2 separate regions of the Homo sapiens genome follow, and region 1 is linked to region 2. Evidence: promoter capture Hi-C in human tissues and cell types (Jung and others, 2019). All regions are on one chromosome and are shown on one strand. Each heading gives the region's core, a stretch centred on a gene start or on the middle of the fragment in contact. The rest is flanking DNA. Distances are from core to core; before and after follow the strand shown.

Evidence for each region. The method cuts DNA at HindIII sites, captures the fragments that hold promoters and counts their contacts. A contact is called where the count stands out against the background at its distance.
Region 1: a fragment that was not itself captured here is called in contact with the fragment with the promoter of CHRDL2 in region 2 in 1 of the 25 tissues and cell types used here (small bowel).

What each region holds. Positions count from the first base shown.
Region 1 is chr11:73,391,361-73,396,950 of GRCh38, forward strand. It overlaps RELT (RELT TNF receptor), which reads left to right. Exons shown (of 11, transcript NM_152222.2): 6 at 851-1,108; 7 at 2,477-2,557; 8 at 2,876-2,957; 9 at 3,117-3,374; 10 at 3,727-3,925; 11 at 4,084-5,590. The coding sequence ends at 4,131. Among named protein-coding and RNA genes, the nearest start is that of RELT, 18 kb to the left of the region's middle. The HindIII fragment of the contact is 5,281 bases long and covers 1,610-5,590 here.
Region 2 is chr11:74,729,515-74,734,625 of GRCh38, forward strand. It overlaps CHRDL2 (chordin like 2), which reads right to left and starts at 1,912. Exons shown (of 11, transcript NM_001278473.3): 1 at 1,293-1,912. The coding sequence starts at 1,374. The HindIII fragment of the contact is 7,141 bases long and covers 1-4,471 here.

The DNA.
Region 1 (5,590 bases), core at 3,000-5,499, 1.3 Mb before region 2:
AAAGGGTCTCCAGCAGGGCACAGTCAGCCGCTCCCCTGGCTGTTTCTGCCCACCATGCTTCCGAGTGGCAGAGAGTGTCCTGCAGATGGCAGCCACAGCTGGGGGCTGGGGACTCACATACTGACCTGTCCCCTGTCCCCATCCCTTCAAAGAGATTCATGCCAGCCAAGTGCAGTGGCTCATGCCTGTAATCTCAGCACTTTGGGAGGCCAAGGCAGGAGGATCACTTTGAGACCAGCTTGGGCAACATAGCAAGACCCTGTCTGCAAAAAATAAAAATAAAAAATTAGCCGGGCGTGGTGGTGCTACTCGGGAGGCTGAGGCGGGAGGATTGCTTGAGTCCATGATTTTCATGCTGCAGTGAGCTGTGATCGCCCCACTGCACTCCAGCCTGGGCAACAAGTGAGACCCTGCCTAAAAAAACCCATGCAGATGAGTGTGCGCATGCAAACACTCACATACCCACACGCACCTCCTCCCGCCACTGAGTCAGTCACCCCCTGAGGCACTAGATTCATGGCCAGGCCACAGGGAGGCAGATCCCACGTCCCTGTGCCCAGACATGTGTCCTGTGTGCCATCTCTTCACCCCCTGACCCCAGCGTGAGGGGAGGGTGGGGCTGGGTGTCTGGCCGTCCTGAGGAGGCCTTGTTCAGGACAATGCTTCGATGGCCAGAAGGGAAAACAGGAGGGCAGTGGGTTGACCTTTGCATCCCCAGCATGGCGGGGAGTGGGCTCCCCTGGGCACATTGGCTCTCCTGCAGCCCCCACTGACTCGGGCCCTGGGCCCCTGTCTCTCTGTGTTTGTGTCACTCTGCTTTTGTCCTGCCTCCATCGTCTGTGATGCTCAGAGTGGGGGCGGCGGGCCCGACGTGGCGTGGAGGTGGCAGCAGGGGCCAGCAGCGGTGGTGAGACACGGCAGCCTGGGAACGGCACCCGGGCAGGTGGCCCAGAGGAGACAGCCGCCCAGTACGCGGTCATCGCCATCGTCCCTGTCTTCTGCCTCATGGGGCTGTTGGGCATCCTGGTGTGCAACCTCCTCAAGCGGAAGGGCTACCACTGCACGGCGCACAAGGAGGTCGGGCCCGGCCCTGGAGGTGGAGGCAGTGGTGAGGCCCAGCTGGGGTCCAGGTGGGAAGGACGGGGGCACGAGCCCAGCCCCAGCTCCACTTGGGGGCTGCCAGCGGAATCCTGCCTGGCCTCTGGGGTCTGAGAGGGAGAGGCTTGGGAGGTGATAGCTGCAGACTGACAACATGGGAGGAAAGGTAAGGGGACGAAGGTGTGGCCGTGGGGGCAGAGCAGAGGTGGCACAGCTGGTCAAGTGGCTTCAGTGGATCCTACCCTGGGTGAAGCCTTGCCCAGATGTGGGGATCTGGACTCTTTGGAGGCCACAGTTGTGTGTATGGTTCCAGGGTCGGATGGTGGCCTTGGAGTTACTCAAGGTGACCTCTGACCTCTGGCCTGGAGTAGCAGGAGTGCCCTGTGGCAGGAGGGCTGGCAGGGCAGCTGTCCTGTCCTGGGCAGGCACCATAAGGGGCTCGGGTTTTGGTTCCAGGCTGTAGTTTGAGTTACAAGGCCTGGAACCGGAGGGACAGGCATGCGCCACCACCTTCACCCCCAGGGCCCCGGGCCCCTTTCCTTCTTCCCCACACCACTACTCCCCTGCAGGGCAGGGGCCCACTCGCACACACCCTGCCCTGGGCCCATGGGAGCCTGTGGCTACCTCAAGAGTGAAATGGCATCTCCCATGCTAGCACCCTCGGCTGTCTGGGGCTGGCATGGGAGCCAGAGACCCTTCTAAGTCCTGACACTGAAGTCTGGCGGGGGCAGGAAGCGGACAGGAGCAGTAAGCCGGCAGGAGGAAACGTGGTGACTCAGGGCCATTTTGCCTGGGACTGTGCTTGTTTTCCTAGAGACTTCCCTTTAACTGCTGGATGCTGCCTGGGTGCAAGTCCTGGGAGCTCTGTTTGCTGCTGGGCCCAGGGCTGATCATCGTGGCCCATTCTCACACCCTTGAGATTTGGGCCCAAAGCTGACTAGGGGCACTCAGTTAAATTGTTACATAGGGCACAGTAGAGAGGCCATGGAATAGCAGTTTGCTGTAGATTTGGGGAGTTCTGGGTAGGGTGGCAGCCCACAGCTCCTTGAGGCTGAGGAGGAGACAGTGCAGACCCAGAAGACGCTGACGCACCGCCCCCTCGCCCGCCCAATTCAATGACTGGAGTTCACGTGGCCCTGAAGCCTCTATGCACCCGGGCTGTTGGGTGCAGGAAGCACTGGTGTTGAATCATGAAGGTGATATGGGCTTCTCTGAGCCTGGATCCCACATTTGCAGGGCTCTGGGAGGCTTGTCACCTAAATGCACATGCTCAGGGCCCTTAAGAAGGCCAGGGTTGCCCTCTGCTGGCAGATCATGGTTTAGCTCAGGAGTGCGGCTTCCCCCTCTTCCCCAGGATCAGGGCCCTTCTCTTCCCCAGGAATCAACCCTGCCTACCGGACTGAGGATGCCAATGAGGACACCATTGGGGTCCTGGTGCGCTTGATCACAGAGAAGAAAGGTGAGGAGAAGGTCTGACCCCATCCCAGTGCCCAGGAGAGGAGGGTTTCCTCCAGGAGCCTGTGAGGCAGCCGCGGTGGGCAGAGTCTTGCCCTGCTCTGCCTTCCCTGCCAGGGTGCCTCAAGCAGCCTGGTGCTCTCTGACCCAGGAGTGCACACCTCTGCCTCCCATTCTTGCCTGATGAAGTGGGAGGAAAAGGCGCACAGCCCAGGCTGGGAGTGGTGGTATGGAGGGTAGGTGGGGGGTTCTCTGCTGGGGCAGGGGGTGGGAGGTGTGTCCCATATGGCCACAGTGAGGGTCTGACTGCAGCTACCCACAGAGAATGCTGCGGCCCTGGAGGAGCTGCTGAAAGAGTACCACAGCAAACAGCTGGTGCAGACGAGCCACAGGCCTGTGTCCAAGTGAGTGGGCTGGTGGGAGATAACGGGGCCAAAACCTACATTAACCAGCCTGCCTCCTGGGGATCTCCCACTTGGGTCTCCCTCAAGTCACCCTGTTCCCTGCTGGGGTCTCCTGCCCCTGGCCTGGCCTATGGCCACTTCTGCCTGTGCCCCCTGCAGGCTGCCGCCAGCGCCCCCGAACGTGCCACACATCTGCCCGCACCGCCACCATCTCCACACCGTGCAGGGCCTGGCCTCGCTCTCTGGCCCCTGCTGCTCCCGCTGTAGCCAGAAGAAGTGGCCCGAGGTGCTGCTGTCCCCTGAGGCTGTAGCCGCCACTACTCCTGTTCCCAGCCTTCTGCCTAACCCGACCAGGGTTCCCAAGGCCGGGGCCAAGGCAGGGCGTCAGGGCGAGATCACCATCTTGTCTGTGGGCAGGTGAGATGGGCACAGATGCAGCAGGGGCAGGTAAAGACGTGACAGCCTGGGGGCCGGGAGGGGGAGGCAGGGCCCCAGCTTGGGCCCTGAGCACCCTGCTCAATGGGAGCCCTGCCCTTATTGGGCCTCTCTGGGCAGTGGAGGCGGCCAGAGAGATCAGGACTTTCCGGTTATGTTGTGTCTCACATGGAGCCCTTGCATCCCTAGGGCAGCATCTTGGCCCCCATGGCACCCGGGCCTCTCAGGCTAAGGCTCTGGTCCATGAACTTGCTGTGTGACCCCGGGCACGTGCTGCCTTCTCTGTGCCCCGGGATCCCCGCTAACGGGGATGATTGCCCCACTCTCCTCACAGGTTCCGCGTGGCTCGAATTCCTGAGCAGCGGACAAGTTCAATGGTGTCTGAGGTGAAGACCATCACGGAGGCTGGGCCCTCGTGGGGTGATCTCCCTGACTCCCCACAGCCTGGCCTCCCCCCTGAGCAGCAGGCCCTGCTAGGAAGTGGCGGAAGCCGTACAAAGTGGCTGAAGCCCCCAGCAGAGAACAAGGCCGAGGTGAGAGTCAAGGAGAAAGGCATCTGTTGGCACCTGGGCCAACCCTGACCGAAGACGGGGCAGGGGTGGAAGTGCAGCGGGCCCTAGGCAGGGGCCACTTTCCTGGAGCCAGAAGCCAGCCCCTGACTCAGCTCTGACCCCTCACCCCTGCCCACCAGGAGAACCGCTATGTGGTCCGGCTAAGTGAGAGCAACCTGGTCATCTGAGGGGCGGTCTAGTCTAAGGACACTGCGGCCCTGCCCTGGGAGGTTCCGAAGGCTTCCTGGAGGAGGTGGAGCTGCAGCTGGGACTGTGAGGACCGAGAAGCAATGGCCCAGCAGACGAGACAGCAAAGACCAAGGCCTGGAGGTGGGAGCGTCTGCCCCAGTGAGGAGGCAGGTGGCCGGCGGGCACTGTGTACAGGAGCAGGCTGAGCCCCGCCCCTGGCCCTGCTGCCATGTTGCTCCCCTGAAGGATGCCCCGACCCCCGTGCCTGCCCTGGCTGGATCCTAGGAGCCCACGGGATTCTCTGTATCATCAGAGGCTGGGCTTGGCAGAGGGGAGGGGCCTGTGCCCGTCACCCCTGGCCCCATTCCTTGGTAATTAGCCACACCCTTGCCTCTGTACAGGGCCCTAGAGCAGATGTGCGTCCCCCTCCTCTTCCAGCAGGTCTATAAAGGGAAGGGGTAGCAGAAAGTCCTGGGCTAGGAGAGTGAGTCCCTGGGTTCTAATCTTGGGCACATCTGTGGCCATCGCTGGGTCCATTTTTCTGACTGTGAAGTAAGGAGAGACGTCTCAGTACCCAGGGCCTCTTCAGCTCTTTGTAGGTTCTGGGCTGGGTTGTGGGGGACTGGGGAGCTGGGCTCTACCATCCCTCCCATTAGTAGCTTTATCCAGCCCCGTTTTTGCTGCTTCCAGGGCCTCTGCCTTCAAGGCCCCCATGGGGCTGTCCATCCATGGCTCTGCCTACGGAAGGGGCTTAATGCATGTGCCTGCCCCTCCCCCAGCTGTTTTTAATGAAACTGAAAAAATAGACTTGATCCCGGCAGGACTGTGATACAGAGCCCTAGCCTGCCCAGCCAGCCCCAAGATCTCAGGAGCTTTAGGGAGAAGACTTGGTGGGGCTGGAGCACACCTTGGGCCTCAGTGGTTTCTGTGTCCCTGTGGTGCCAGTGCTTCTGGGCAGTGCAGGCGGCTGCCAGGCCCAGCCCTGACTTCCACTCTGGCTCAGCAACCTGGTTATTTATGTGGGGCCGTGCAGGCATGGGCCCACTGCCTGTCCATCCTGTTTCTCTTATTTATTGAAACTCACCATTGCCCTATCCTTGTGTCTCCACCCCCTTCCATGTGTTGAATAATAAAAGGTGGGAAAGTGCTGTCACGAGGAGCTCCTTTTCTCTGTGCCCTTCCCAGCTTATCCGCCTGTTCCACTTGTACCTGTCCAGCCCTGCCCTGTGTTGGGCACCGTGACAGGCTGCCCTCCCCTCACAGTTCCTGCACCTCAGCAGCCAGGGAAGCAGGGCCCAGAGGAGACCCATCAACTCATCTGGTTCTCACCAAAGCCCCTAGCTAGAGGCAGGGCTGTCCCACAGAAATAGTGTGAGCCACATATGTGACTTTAAATTTTCTGACAGTCACATTTCAAAAAGTAAAAAGAAGCAGGTGAACTTAATTTTTTTTTAACCC
Region 2 (5,111 bases), core at 662-3,161:
TCTATGTAATGGAAAGACTTATGTGAGTCTCATGCTGCTGGCAGGCCAGAGACACTCAGCCTGCTCTCATGAGCAGAAACAAGACCGTAACAAAGTCCAGCACTACCAGCTCCAGAATGTCACGTGCAAAAGAAAGGCATAGATGGAGGAGCTGAGCTGGGGAGAGGAAAGAGCACCAGACTAGGAGTTGGGAACGCAGGGTCTTAATCCCAGGCTGTGCCATGTATGTCCTGGAGAAACCCACTGCTTGAATGAAGCTCCTTTCTTCTGATTAAGAGAATGTGGTTTGGTTTTCCATCCTCACAGCATTCTAAGAGATTGGCTGGGCATGGGGAGGGGGGACCACCAGCCTATTGTGGGCGCAGTGAGGAAACTGAGGCTCAGATTGATGATGTAACCTGTTTGATGTTACACTGTATCTATGTGGAAAAGCATAATTGGGAACTGATTTTTTTTGGAAGCTATCAAGCACCAGTCTTGTGCTAGCTGCTTTACCTCTTTTCTCTAATTTAATCCTATCAACTCTCCTAGGATTTTTACTTCCGCTTTATAGATTAGGAAACCCAGGGTCAGAGAGGTGCACTCTGTGACGGCCTCCCAGCAGCTGGCATTCAGCGGGGCTGGGATGGTGAAGACGCTGGTCTATCTCACTGTGCCCTGCCGCCTCCCAGAGTCTCACACTGCAAATTCAGGGTTCCTTCTAGACAATGTGAGGCAGGGAATAAAGCATGGGATCTGGAACTAGAGTTCTGGCTTTGGATGGCTTACCCGCTCTGTAAGTTTTAGCAAGTTCCTCCTTGCTCAGCCTAAGTTTTCTCATCTGTAAAGTGCGAATGATAATACCCACCTCACTGGAGAGTTGCGAGGATCAAAAGAGAGAAAAGAATGGGAAGGTTATCCTAATTACCTCTCATTTCTGTCCAATGGCTCTTTCCAAAGGCAAAAAGCCTTTTCTTCTCCATCACACTCCTTACCTGTAGCCAGACATACCCGACTCCCTCCTAGGAACAGTAAGTCCTCCCCCAACCCAAAACACAGTGCCCTGCCCTCTCCCCCCGCTGCCCTTGGTGCCCCTCCTCAGGTCCCTGGCAGCAGCCCTCTCTCAGTTCTGAGTTGTGCCGAGTTCCTCCGGTCCCCCGGCCCATACTGGTCCTCACGGAGTCTCCACCCCTCCGGCACAGGTGCTGCCTGGACGGCTGTCAGAAGAGCTTGGGGTCCAGGTCCTGGCGCTGTCCCTCACATTCCAGGGGCCGCATCCCTCCTCTGCCCACCCAGCCTCCCGGTCTACTTACGGGCTCGAGCGTGGGAGTCCAGGGGGAACCAGAGCAGCGCGAGTCCCAGCAAGGAGGAGAGGACCCTCACCTCGGGAACCATCCTTTCCCCAGGGTCAGGCCGCTGGTCCGGGAGCGGAGTCGGGAGGAAGGGAGACGAAAAGGACACGGAGGCACAGGGGCCACAGATCAACCCACAGACCCCAGGAGGTCTGCTGCTAGAGCGGGGTCGGAGAAGGGCCAGGAAGCAGCGGTGGGCAGGAAAGGAGGGCAGGAAGGGAGGTCTAAGGTGGGAAGAAGAGAAAGGTGGAAAGAGAACGCGGGGAAAGGAGGGAGAGATGGAGAGACGAAGGAAGGTCCAGCAGAAGGGAGAGGCGATCAAAGAAAGGGGGAAGGTGAGAGGGAGAGGAGGAGAAAGCAGGGAGAGGACCGGCGTCTGCCGAGCGCGCAGCGCCGGGCGAGGCGCGCGGGACCAGCGGGTGTTGCGGGCGCGCGGGCTAGAGGCGGCCGGCGCCCCCTGCTCGGTGGGCTCGGGGTCGGGCCGCGGGGGCCTGGGGCCCGGCGGGGCGGCGGTCCCAGCAGCGGCGGCGGCGCGGCGGCCGCGGAGGGAGGCTGAGCGCGGGCCGGCTGTGCTCGCCAAGGGCTTCAGGCGCCGCGCTCGGGCGCATTTGTACTTTGCCGCGGGAAGCAGGCAGCCCGGCCTGGCGCTGGCCTAGCGCTGGCGCCTCCTCTGGGGCACCGCGGGCTCGGTGGATTGGCCACCCGAGAAACAGGCCCACTTTTTCCCCTCCTCTCTTGTGCGGGTCTCCGGGACGGACGCTCCAGGCGCGGCGCCGAGTGGAGGCGAGGGGGCTGCGGAGGGGGAAGGGGCCACGCGGGCCACGGGGTTTAACCCCTGACTCCCCGCGACGCCAAGAATGCAGGAGGGCAGAGTTGAGGGAGACCTCAGGTGGAACTTTCAGGTGGGGAAGGCTGAGCTGTCGGGGCTGCGGGTACCGGGAAGGCTCAGGGTAAGGCGCTCGGCGGTGCGTGCCCGGAACTCCGCAGATGGATGGAATCAGAACACTGGCGTTCTTAATTCAGTTTGTGGTCTACAGCACGCCACCGGAGAGTCTGTTTTCCCAGCTTTAAAATGGGCATTTTAAGATCTTAAAATATCTCTACTATCTTCCCACGAGTGTTGCTAAGATGAAATAAGGTAATGAACGTCGAAACACTCACCCCACAAAGAGAAGGGGTCCTAATTCCAGGTGCCTACAATACCAGTGGCCCCTGTCCCCACTCCGTCTGCCCATGCGCCATTCTCAGGAAAGTCAGCCCATAGGGATCCTGTGCCTTCCCCTGGAGGTCTTCCTCTGCTCCCCGCTCCCACTCCCGAATCAAGGCAAGATCTCTCCTTTGCCTTTGCAGGTGAGGCCTGCACTTCTCTGGGAGTGATGGTCACCTTCAGTCATCTTTAGGGAGAGCTGATTGTCAAAGAGTTTTCTTTCCCACCAGAAGGGGAGCTCCCTGAGGACAGGGCCCTGACACCCTCCAGCCCTCAAATGGTGCTCCATCTCTTGTGTTGAATGAACACATGCACTAATAGGACACTAAGAAGAGAATAGCCAGCTCTGGCCAGACCAGAAACACACAAGCTCTGAAATCAAAAGGGCAGAGTCACTGTCCTGGCTCCATCCGTAACTTGTTGGGCCACTTTGAGTAAATACATCTATCCTTGCTTTGGACCTCAACTTTCTGCCCAGCTTCTCTTGAAGAGCTAATGGAGACTCCAAAGAGTGCCAGAGGAGTATGAGGTGGGAAGGGATGTTGAGCCATATCCCACTCTGGTAGGGAATCATATTTCCGGGTTTAAACACTTGGCTGGCTGGCTGTAAAGGTATCTTTCTGGGCCAAGGCTGGGCTCCCCATTGCACTGTGCTTTCAGGGTATTACCCCCAAGATCTCCACCCTCCAAAAGAGAGCAGTAGGAGGAACCAGTGATCCCCAAACTGGCCCTTCCTAGGGCTCTCAGGATCAGGGACAAACATGATCTGTCCAGTGCCCTTCAGGCTTAATTTCTACTCTAATCTGGCCAGTCTCTTCCTTTCCCCTGAGTATTCTTTATTTTAACAGATAGTGCAAGCTTATGCATGTCACCATGCTTCCCTTTTTGCCTTTGCTTCCAGGGATCTCAGAGTTAAATCCTGTGCTGCTTAATTGCATAAACAATCTCATCCCAAGGGTTTGGGACAGTGATCTTTTCCTTTCTCTTTGTTTAAAATGTGCTGTGCACATATATTCATGTCTTAGATGTAAGAAGTGGATTAAGATGGGTTCCCCTACATCCTGCCCATCATACTTCAAAAAAGGCCTCCACCATCTCAGCCCTCCTGTCCATCCCTATTATCCCCAGAGTTGAGGCCAACTTCATTCCTTTTTTTTTTTTTTTTGAGATGGAGTTTTGCGCTTGTCGCCCAGGCTGGAGTGCAGTGGCGTGATCTGGGCTCACTGCAACCTCTGCCTCTGGGTTCAAGCGATTCTTCTGCCTCAGCCTCCCGAGTAGCTGGGATTACAGGCATGCACCACCTATAATTTTTGTATTTTTAGTAGAGATGGGGTTTCGCCATGTTGGCCAAGCTGGTCTTGAACTCCTGACCTCAGCTGATCCACTCACCTCAGCCTCCCAAAGTGCTGGGATTACAAGCATGAGCCACCGCACCCGGCCATCTTCATTCCTTACTTGAACTTTCCCAACAGCCTCTTACCAGGTCTCCTCCCCCTAATCTGGATCTCTCCTATCTATTTTCCTCACACCTGCCTTGAGAACTATGCTGATCATTTCTACTGACAAATCTGATCACATCACTTTCCCACATAAAACCTATTATTCACTTCCTATCATTTATAGGTTAAAATCTAAAATTTTCAGCACTGAATTGAACACCACGCATATTTTAGTTCCAATCTACCATTGCCACCTACCCTACACTTTGGCCAACCGCTCACCTCCCCAAACTGACCATGCGTCGTCGCACCTCCATATCCTCACACATGTTTTCCTTCTGCCTGGACTCTCTCTTCCTCCATCTAGTGAATCCCATTTAACTTTCCAAAGGTCAGTTGAGTCACCTCCACTCCAAGGTCTTCCCTGAGTCCCCCAGGCAAAGTCAATGTTTAGTCTTTGTGTTTCCCATAGCACTTTGAATTGTAGCTGTTGGAGTGTAAGTATTTATTTGCATTTTTACCCTGCACTGTGAGTGCAGGTGCCTTTTGAAATTTATATCTGTAATTCGAGCATTTAGCAAAGTCCTTGACACACAGATACTGAATAAATAATTGCTACATGAATGAGTGAAGACCTCAGTGATTGGAAAAGCCTTCAGCCCACTATTGGCCTCAGCTTTAGTCAATGATTGACATAAGAAACAAACACTTGAAAGTTTCTGTGTCAGGCCGGGCCCAGTGGCTCACACCTGTAATCCCAGCACTTTGGGAGGCTGAGGTGGGAAGATGGCTTGAGCCTAGGAGTTTAAGACCAGCCTGGGCAACAAAGTGAGACCCCCCCCCAACTTCGTCTCTACAAAAAGTAAAAAAGATAGCTGGGCATAGTGGCACGCACCTGTAGTCCTAGCTACTCTGAAGGCTGAGGCAGGAGGATCGCTTGAGCCCAGGAGGTTGAGGCTGCAGTGAGCCGTGTTTGCACCACTGCACTCCAGAGCAAGACTGTCTCAAAAAGAAAAAAAGAAAGAAAGAAAGTCTTTGTGTCTTCTGTAGAAATACTATTGAAGAGAGTTGTCTATATATTATTTAATACCCTTTTAAAAAGGAGACTGAATAAATTCTTCCAAAATCTAGTCA